2 separate regions of the Homo sapiens genome follow, and region 2 is linked to region 1. The links are contacts of gene promoters, found by promoter capture Hi-C in blood cells and fetal thymus (Javierre and others, 2016). All regions are on one chromosome and are shown on one strand. Each heading gives the region's core, a stretch centred on a gene start or on the middle of the fragment in contact. The rest is flanking DNA. Distances are from core to core; before and after follow the strand shown. Region 1 holds the start of IL12A (interleukin 12A). Region 2 overlaps IQCJ-SCHIP1 (IQCJ-SCHIP1 readthrough).

What was found. Contacts are between HindIII fragments. The CHiCAGO score rates a contact against its expected background, and 5 or more counts as called.
Region 2: a contact is called between a fragment that was not itself captured here and the fragment with the promoter of IL12A in region 1, in 1 of 17 cell types (endothelial precursors). The highest score is 6.5, in endothelial precursors.

What each region holds. Positions count from the first base shown.
Region 1 is chr3:159,985,614-159,990,087 of GRCh38, reverse strand. IL12A (interleukin 12A) reads right to left here and starts at 1,253. Exons shown (of 7, transcript NM_001397992.1): 1 at 914-1,253. The coding sequence starts at 929. It overlaps IL12A-AS1 (IL12A antisense RNA 1), which reads left to right. Exons shown (of 10, transcript NR_108088.1): 9 at 795-991. RefSeq lists enhancers at 993-1,042, 542-1,042, 1,043-1,543, 2,395-3,594 and silencers at 1,163-1,212, 1,283-1,482. The HindIII fragment of the contact is 5,775 bases long and covers 1-3,640 here.
Region 2 is chr3:159,261,502-159,266,567 of GRCh38, reverse strand. IQCJ-SCHIP1 (IQCJ-SCHIP1 readthrough) reads right to left here. Exons shown (of 10, transcript NM_001414413.1): 4 at 3,885-4,020. It overlaps IQCJ (IQ motif containing J), which reads right to left. Exons shown (of 4, transcript NM_001042706.3): 4 at 2,821-4,020. The coding sequence ends at 3,837. Among named protein-coding and RNA genes, the nearest start is that of SCHIP1, 9.2 kb to the left of the region's middle. The HindIII fragment of the contact is 4,266 bases long and covers 1,382-5,066 here.

The DNA.
Region 1 (4,474 bases), core at 4-2,503:
TCACCCATCCATTCATGCTTGGCACCCACCTCCCTCAACCCATTTCCAACACTTTTCCTTCAACACCTGAGAGATGACTCGAGTTATTACAAAGCGCCACTCTATTCTAGGGCTAGAAGCCAGCTCCCTGTGAGGGTCTAGAGATGAGCTTGGACAAGGGTGTTGAACCCAACACTCACCCAGAGAAAGCCTACATGTTTTTGATCAGGGAAACCCAGACCAGGTGGTGAAGTGGCTGAGTCAGACTTGGGACCCAGTGTTTTAAAAACAGTGGAGTGAGAAAGCCTGACTTTTTTTGTTTTTTTAAGACGGAGTCTCACTCTGTGGCCCAGACTGGAGTGCAGTGGCACGATTTTGGCTCACTGCAACCTCCACCTCCGAGTTCAAGCAATTTTCCCTGCCTTAGACTCCCGAGTAGATGGGATTACAGGCACCCACCACCACACTCGGCTAATTTGTGTATTTGTTAGTAGAGACGGGGTTTCACCATGTTGGTCAGGCTGGTCTTGAACTCCTGACCTCAGGAGATCTGTCCGCCTTGGCCTCCCAAAGTGCTGGGATTACAGGCGTGAGCCATTGCACCCGGCCAAGCCTGACTTTAGAACTGGCTAGGATCTGCCTTCTGTTTGTAGCTGAGGGACCCTAGGCAGGAAAGCAGGAAATCTCCCACGCTGGGCCTCAGTTTCTCCTCTACGAAGTGGGCATAATGATAGCTCATCAGGCTGTTTCGAGATGAAAAGAGACATGCCCTATTTAGCACACGGTGAGACCCCTATTCTTATTCCTCTTTGCAGGAGACGGCTGCTGCTGTTCCAGTCTCTCCTTAGGCAGACTTGAGTTTCTACCCACTCTTCCCAAGCAGCCGCCCCTCCGCACCCGAGCGAGCCAAAGACCTGGCGGGCTGAGTACTCACTGCGCGCTGGACACATGCTGAGCCGGCACTGCAGGGACACAGGGCGAGCCGCTGGATGCAGACCTGTGGCCGCGGCAGGTGAGGGCGGTGGCTGGGAGGCTGACCCAGGGGGCCACATTTTTATAATTGTCCCGAGGCGCGGCAGGACTTTCCCGGGACTCTGGTCTCTTGCTTTCTGTCTCCTTCTGTGTCTCTCTCTACATCAGCTTCTCGGTGACACGTGCGGTGCGGCCGGCCCGCGGGGCTTGCGGCGCTTTCGGATTAACTCCCGGGGTGCCCGGCCGCAGCCGTTCCGGGACGGCCCCGCCGCCTCCAGCTCGGCCCAAAATGAAAGCGAAATGTTCGCAGTTACTGCGCGGGGTCCACAGGCGGGCGGGACACCCCGCCCACCACCCTGGGTCCCCGGCCTTAGCCGGACGCCCCGTGTCTAAGCTACCCCGCCCCGCAGCTGTGCAGCGCCCCCTGCCGACGTAGAGAGAGGAGTGCCTCCCACTTTGCATGTCCTGCGTAGGGATGGGCCCTAACCACGACCTCCAGCCTAGTACTGGAAGGGGTAGGCAAATCATTCACTCATCATCGTTCCTTTAGATGGCTCACTAGATGCCAGGCCGACGTTGCACCAGGTGCAGGACACCCAGGGAGAACAGGACCCTTGGGGCATTGCCACACTAAATCAGACTCAAGGCGTTTTGTTCACAGGTCTTTTCTGAAACCTGAAAAGGGATGAGAGCTGGCTGACTCTGCAATTATTACTCTTGTAGAGAATCCAGTTTAACGATAGGATGAATACACAGAGTCCTGGGAGGAAAGACCTAGAGAAAGAGCCCACGCTCAGCCGGAGCAACGGGGTCCAGGAGTCAGCAAAGGCTCCCGGGAGCAGGCAGGGGCCCCAACCTGAGTGTTAAAAACAAGCAGGCATTAGACCGCTTCCAGCGGGAGGGCACGCAGGGTCTAGCCAGGGGAAACAGGGATCAGAAGCGCAGTCATGAAGGGTTGAGGGAGGTGGGGGTCTAGGTGTCCTTGCAGGGTGTGAGGCTGGAGGGCTGGATGGGGCCATGCCATGAGGGCAGGGGATGCCATACTAAGGAGTGTACTTTCTGTGCTGAGAGTAGTGGGGAGTCTTCCTGGGTTTTAGGCGGGAGATGTGGCAGAATTTGCATGATGGGGGGATCCCTTCAGCCACAGCATGAAGGATGGATCCAGGGGTCAGGAGTAGAGCAGAGGGAAGAGTTGACAAGGTGTGGCCAAGTCCTTATTCAGTATGGAGAACACAGGGTGGGCAGGAGGGACTCTCAGAGGGCTTGTGGGCCAAGGCTTGGTAGCTCCTCAGGTGAGCGGGAGAGGAAGGCCCTGAGAATGGGGAATGGAGATTGTTCTAGCTTTACAGGGATTACTGTATAAGAGGACTGAGTTTGGAGGAGATGGTGAGAAGTTCCATTTTGGATGTGCTGGGTTTGAGGTTCCTGTGGGACTTTTTAGTTCAGTTGTTTTTCCCACAGGCATTAGTCACCCTAGGCGTGGGTAGTGGGGAGGATGTGTTTGATCTCTGACTTGGAGCTTCCAAAGGGCCTGACTACACCCAGGCCCTAGGACCTAATAACTGGAGCTGCCTTCTGGGTGGCTCATCTGCTCGAAGCTGATGAAGCACGGCTGTAGGGAGTTTTAGGTGTGTGTAAAATAAGAGAAATGGTTGATCTCTAAGGCCCCTTCTAATGCTGCTGTCTGAGAATTCCCCCACGGGATACAGAGTAATCCATTGTCAGAAACAATTGCGTTTAGCAGTTTGTCTAGAGCAAATGACAGGTGCAGAGCTGTGTTGTGGCCACAAGGGTTTAGTGTGGAGTTAAATGTACTTAAAGTCAGGATGAAGACAAGTGTATCACAACTGAGCTGTTTCTCCCCTGGAAGGGCCATCTCCTATACAAAAGTAATTTCTGTTGCTTAGATGAGCACAGGGCCACTGTTAAAAATGGATTATTGGCTACCAGACACAGTTTCTAATTTACATTTTTGTGAAATAGTTTCCTGAAGTGCTCCATGTCCTCTAGCTAAGATGAAATGAAAACCTTCTTCTAGGAATACATGATTTTTCTATAAGTGACAGTCTTAGCTCACAATCACTACTTCACAGTGTGTAGCATTGTCGTGGAGGTCTCGGCCAATGCTATAAGGAAAGAAAAAGAAATGAGAGCTTTAAACATTGGAAAAGAAAAGGTAAAACTGTCACTTTTTACAGTTGATATACAAAAAGAAAAAAAATTAATAGACTATTAGAACTAAGAAGAGAATTTAACAACATCATGCAATACACATATCAACTTAAAAAAAATCAGCCGATTTTCTTTGTATCTGCAACAATCCATCAGAAAATGTAATAAAAACAAGATGACATGCATAGAAGCAGCCAAACTATAAAGTAACTGACTGTAGATACAGAGGCAGTATAATGGCTAAGAGTATGGACTAAACTATGTTAATCCAGGTTCTGCTACTTACTTGCTGTGTGTTCTTAGGTGAGTTATTTATCTCTCTGGGCTCAGTTTCCTCATCTGTTAAATGATGATAATAAAAGTACCTACAGTATAGAGTTATTATGATTATTACATGAGCTTGGATAACTACAGAATAGTGTTTGGAGAAAAATTTTAAAGTTCAGTCAAGAATATAGTGTGATTTAATTAAATAATTCTATACCCTTGGGTGGAAGGTTTCTCTATATAGAAAGCTTAAGCCTCTTTTCGTTAATTCACATGCTCAATGTAATTCCAATACAAGCTACAAATAAATTTTCTCAGAAACTTAATAATAAGCCTACTCTAAAATACAGATGTAATAAAATCTATGACTAAGTTAAAAAAATTTTTTTTGAGACATGGTTTTACTGTATCACCCAGGCTGGAGTGTAGTGGTGGCACAGTCACAGCTCACTGCAGCCTTGACCTCCTGGGCTAAAGTGATCCTCCCACTTCAGCCTCCTGAGTAGCTTGGACCACAGGCAACACCATCATGTCCAGCTAATTTTTATTTTTGTATTTTGTAGAGACGGAGTCTAGTTTTGTTGCCTAGGCTGGTCTCAAACTCCTGGGCTCAAGTGATCCACCCACCTTGGCCTCCCAAAGTGCTGGGATTACAGGCGTGAGCTGCTGTTCCTGGCCTTAAGTAAAAATGCTAAGGGAATAATGAAAAGGGGGACTAACCCTATCACATATGGACATAATTTAAAGCCATAGAAATTAAAGTAGTGATCTTTGCAACAGATCAGGCATATGGACCATTGAAACAGAGTAGAGAAATTATAGATAGATTTGTATATTTGGGTATTAAGTATAAGATAATACAGATGATTCCCTGATCAATGAGGAAAACATGCAATATTTAGTAGAAAATACTCAATGGGCTGGGCATAATGGCTCACACCTGTAATCCCAGCACTTTGGGAGGTCAAGGCAGGAGAATTGCTTGAGGTCAGTAGTTCAAGGCCAGTCTGAGCAAAAACTCCCTACAAAAAATTTTTTTAAAAAGAGAAAATGTTCAGCGTATGATGAAAAATAAAACTGGACT
Region 2 (5,066 bases), core at 2,265-4,764, 730 kb after region 1:
TTCCCTAACAGTTGCTATTCAAAATTCCTATTTCTAAAACAAATTTTTCTGTTACCACATGATACATTGCAGTGTAAGGGCACTTAATATGCAAATTGCTAACATAACTTAATATTATCTTCCCTTCTGTTGCTCTTTAATTTGGCATTGAACAGCTGAGGTTTGAGGTTTTAATCAAGGAGCATTGAATGAAGCAATTTATAAAATCAAATGAGGGTTTTAAAAATATTGTTTCATTCACTGTTTGTAACTACCAAATTGTAAAGCAGTCTTAGAAATGCATGAACTGATTGCTTGACCGTGTCTAAATGCAGCCTTCTTTTCAAGTAATATAGTGGAAGAATAAAATATGGAGCTCCAACCCAATGGGTGGCCCAAGAAAAGGTAGTTATCTCTTTAAGTCTCTTTTTCATCACCTGTAAAATGGAGATAATAATAGTGTCTTTCTTTGTATGATCATTGATAGGATTAAACAAGATAATAGCAGAGTGCCTGGCACATAACAAGTGCTCAGCTTTTATTAAGATAATGAATTTGAGCACTCATACTTAAACGTTACTTTTGTTATATATTTTAAGGCAGAAATGTTCAAAGAACCACATTAACCACTAGGCCTAGCCAAAACAATCAGAGCAGAAGCATGCAAAAGCATCATTATCAGCTCCACACAGGAACTCAACCAGATTAGTGAGCTGATTTCCTGTGTAGTGCATGCCTGGGGTAGATAGTTGAGATAGGCAATAATTGCAGTTATGGGCGTGGGGCTGCAGAGCAGCTGGCAATGTCCAGAAGTTAGGTAAGGGCTTGTTGGCCTCCATTAAGGTTGTGTTAGAGGTTAGTAGAAGGAAGGAAGGGACTTGGGACAAGACAGTCAGTTGATCAGATATGAGAAGATAGAAAATTGTCTAGGCAGTAACAGCAATAGATTAAACCCAGAGAAAGAGGGCTGAGGTTCAACAACCTGGAAAAGATCAAGCAAGAGGCAGGGCATAAAGAACTCCCCAGGGACACAGCTCACTGACAACATTTGACTTGGACTGAAGGCTTTTAACACAGAAGTTCCAAATGGACTCATGGTTGTTAGAGGAAGCTCATTTCTTGATGACAGGCTTAGTCAGTGTAGGCCAGGGATCATCCTATTCCCTCCATAAACTTGAGGTCCATTCACTGGAGGGTGAGAAAACCAAGTCTTTCTATCTGGGGCTCCTTGAGAGTATGTATGAACCCAGTGGGTCTGGCAAGCTGGTCAAGGTAGAGAAGAATCACCTTCCTTCCACCAGGCAACTTGTCCCCAGGTGACTGCAACCTCCAAGAGATGTAAGGATGAATCTTCCCAACAGGGGCCCTGGCAAACTGATGATCACAGCAGATAAAACAAGCTTAGCTCACTAAACTCCAAACAACTACATATAAAGTTTTCTTTTAAACTGTGACTTGGATATTTTACCTAAGTGACAAACCAGAGACTTGGAAGCATCCCAACATCTTATATTTTCATATTTTATTTTTTACATTTAATGTCACATCACTGTCATTATCAATATTTAAGTCATTGTTATAATCAATAACTTCTATTAGAATTCTGGGCAGGGCCTGCTTGCTTTCTGACAGCTAATTCTTTTTGAAAATCTGTTCTGATTCTAATTCTTTTTTTTTTGTTTTCCCCTCTGTCATCCAGGCTGGAGTGCAGTGGCGCAATCTCGGCTCACTGCAACCTCTGCCTCCTGGGTTTCAAGCCGTTCATTCTCCTGCCTCAGTCTTCCAAGTAGCTGGGATTACAGGTGCATGCCACCACACCCAGCTAATTTTTGTATTTTTGGTAGAGACAGGGTTTCGCTATGTTAGCTAGGCTGATCTCAAACTCCTGACCTCAAGCGATCTGCCCACCTCAGCCTCCCAAAGTGCTGGGATTACAGGCATTGATTCTCACTTTTTATAGGCAATCATGGGTGAGCCAGACTGCCATTCACTGAATACAGTCATCCTCAGCACATGAGCACAGAGCTAAAGGATGATGATATGGTGGGGCTACAGGATGCACCCCCAATTCAGTCTGATATACCTTATGGGAGAACAAATTTCTGGGAACATTTGAGGGAGGAAATATCTTCTACTAAAAACCAACAAGGAATCAGGAGGCTAAGCTAAATTAAATAAAGTAGAACTGTTAGTGAAGCTGTGCAGAGATATAAATGAAGTTGATGACTCATGAACAGGGAAGAACATGCATTTATGCACAAAACACTTATGCTAGAATCGAAGCAGTACAGCCGTACAAATATAAAACAAACATATATTCTCATAGGAGTCCAATAAAACCGAAAGGTTAAGCACCCTAAAGCAACACTAAAACTTTTAGATATCACTGGATTCAGCAGCAATTGAGAATTGTCGTGAATTGGGGCTGTGAGAAGGTACAAAAAAAGTAAATCCAAACATTTAACTCACAAAGTGATTTCTAATATTGAGTTTCCATCATTCAAATAAAATCCAAAAGTCATCTAATTTGCACTTTCTATTGGCATTTACAGCAAAGACATCTTAAACATTCAATTCTCACTTTAGTTTTTACCTCACAAATCATGAGTTAGACACAAACGAGAAGCCCTGGCATTTTCCAGTGTAGTTCACGAGTGCCCTCTAGTGATAGTGAGGTCAGTTAGGATAAGCCATTCCCCTAAATAATTGTTTTAAAAAGTGAAGATTCACTAAATGTTCAATTTCTGCTGTCAATTAAAAATGGATCTTCTGCCACTTTTATTTGCACTGCTATAAACTCAACTTATTCTCTCTCTTTAAATCCATATCTAGGCAAAACCATTTATTGAAGAATATGCAATGCAACCATCTGAAAACATTTCAAATACAGTAACTTTTACCTGATCCCAAAAAGAATACATTGCGTTGAGTGTTGGGAAACCTTTTTACCACAGAATAAACATGATAACCAAAAGTAAAAGAAAAATTTTTGGAAGTAATATACTTGTGTAATTACTTCATTTCTCTAACTTTTCAGCATTTCAGTGACTGGTTACAAATTATCACAATGCTTAAATCCACAAAATCCTGGTTCATAAATCCCTCATCACTGATTTCTTCCCACTTTTGGTGTTTTTTAAAAATAAAGACTTCCAGCAGATTCCCTTATTCCTTAACTCTCTATCTCAGATTTCTTAAACTGGTGGCCTGTAGGTCAATTGTGGTCTGTAGGCATGCTTACTTTACCTTTTAAATTTTCTTACTGGCTGCTAACACTTAAAAATGCAGATTTCTGACATGTCCTGAAGAAAGAAAATCACATTTGGCCATGCCTGCCTGTATCGCCACATGGTGTCACATTGTCAGGAGCCAAGTGCGCTGCCCTTCAGGTGAGGTCTATGTTCTCCGTGTAGCCAGGGGCACAGCTCAGCCACCTCAGTCATGAGGGTGACTTACCTGGCCCCTGGAGACATTTAAGTTGCAACCCCTGAGTGTGTGACCACTTTCAATTCTTCTGGTAAAAGTTCTCTTTCTACTCCTTATAACCAATCTTATCTTCTATCATATTAGCACCACACAATAAAAGAAACACACAGCACATACTAAAAGAAATATGCTATTATAAAGAAAAGCAAAAAAGATACCTCCATAATAGAGAAATGAGAACACATAAATGCAATCTATTTTCTCCAGACTTGATAAAGTTCACTTTGTGCTTATGAATTGTGTCTTTATTTTGAGGTGACAAAACTCTCACCATGGGTTCCTGGGTAGCAAATAAGCTACATAGATCTTCACTGTCACAAACCACCTGCTCACATCCCAAGATTTCTCTCTTAGAACCAAAGTCTAGGCTTTCAGTTGAATGTCAAGTCAGGACATAGAAAAAGAAACATGACACTCACGGGTGTGCTGCTGTCGGAGAAGGTGTTCATGCTGACAGAGCTGCTCAGCTTCTCTGAGGAGACAGAGGGTGGGGACGGGCTCCTCTTCCCCAGGGGCTCCTGCCGCTGCAGGTACTCTCGCCATGCTCGCTGAATGCTGAAAAAACAAAACAAAACAAAAAACAGCACACACATGATTACTGTTGGATCATGGTCCACAGACTCAGAAACTCACAAGGAGTCTGAAGGAATTGGCTTTGGTGCCAAGGGAAGTAGAACATACAGAATGTGATGTAGTGAATCAGGAGACCTGAACTTTAACTTCAATCCAGCCATGGAGACTGTCTCCCTACCTTACTGGTTTGACTTTCACAGACTTGACTGCACTCAACCGGCCTAAAAGAGTCAACTTAATAATAAAATTCATCAGTCAAAACAAACTAGTTTGCACAGGTAAATGTACTTTGATTTATGAGACAACAAATTCTTTCAATTTTTCATCTTATATTTTAGATGAGAATAATAAATAGGCTGACTACTACTGCATGCACTCAATGTGTGATTTTTGAGGGGCCATTCTGTGCCAGGGTCAGCTGTAGACTCTGAACAGGGACTCTGCCGTGCACAGCTCCAGAGCAGTCCTTTGCATGACTGCAAGGTGAAGGTGTCAGTGATGTGCAGCACAGTCTGCATGGCCAAATGCAGTGGCCCTGCTGTGGGGCACAAGGCAGGCGAGAGCACCACATCATGGGTTTTATATACTGTGGAAGGGAATAGGAAATGGACAAAGATTATAAATAAAGAAATGGACAAAGATTATTCAAGTGTTACGTACTACTCAGAGAATTAATGTAATGTCATTAGGCAGCTATTTCAGGTTTCGCCTAAGGAAGTTATTTTCTGTGATTAGTATCAGAAAAAATAAATTATCTTCTGCTCAGGATAACGGAAACCTCTTCTTAATATAAGCTAAGTGATTCCCCCATGGACTGTGTATTAGTCCGTTTTCATGCTGCTATGAAGAAATACCCGAGACTGGGTAATTTATTAAGAAAAGAGGTTTAATTGACTCACAGTTCTGCATGGCTGGGGAGGTCTCAGGAAACTTACAATCATGGCAGAAGGCACCTCTTCTGAGTAAAGGGGGAAGCCCCATGTAAAAGCACCAGACCTCCTGAGAACTCACTATCAACAGAACGGCAT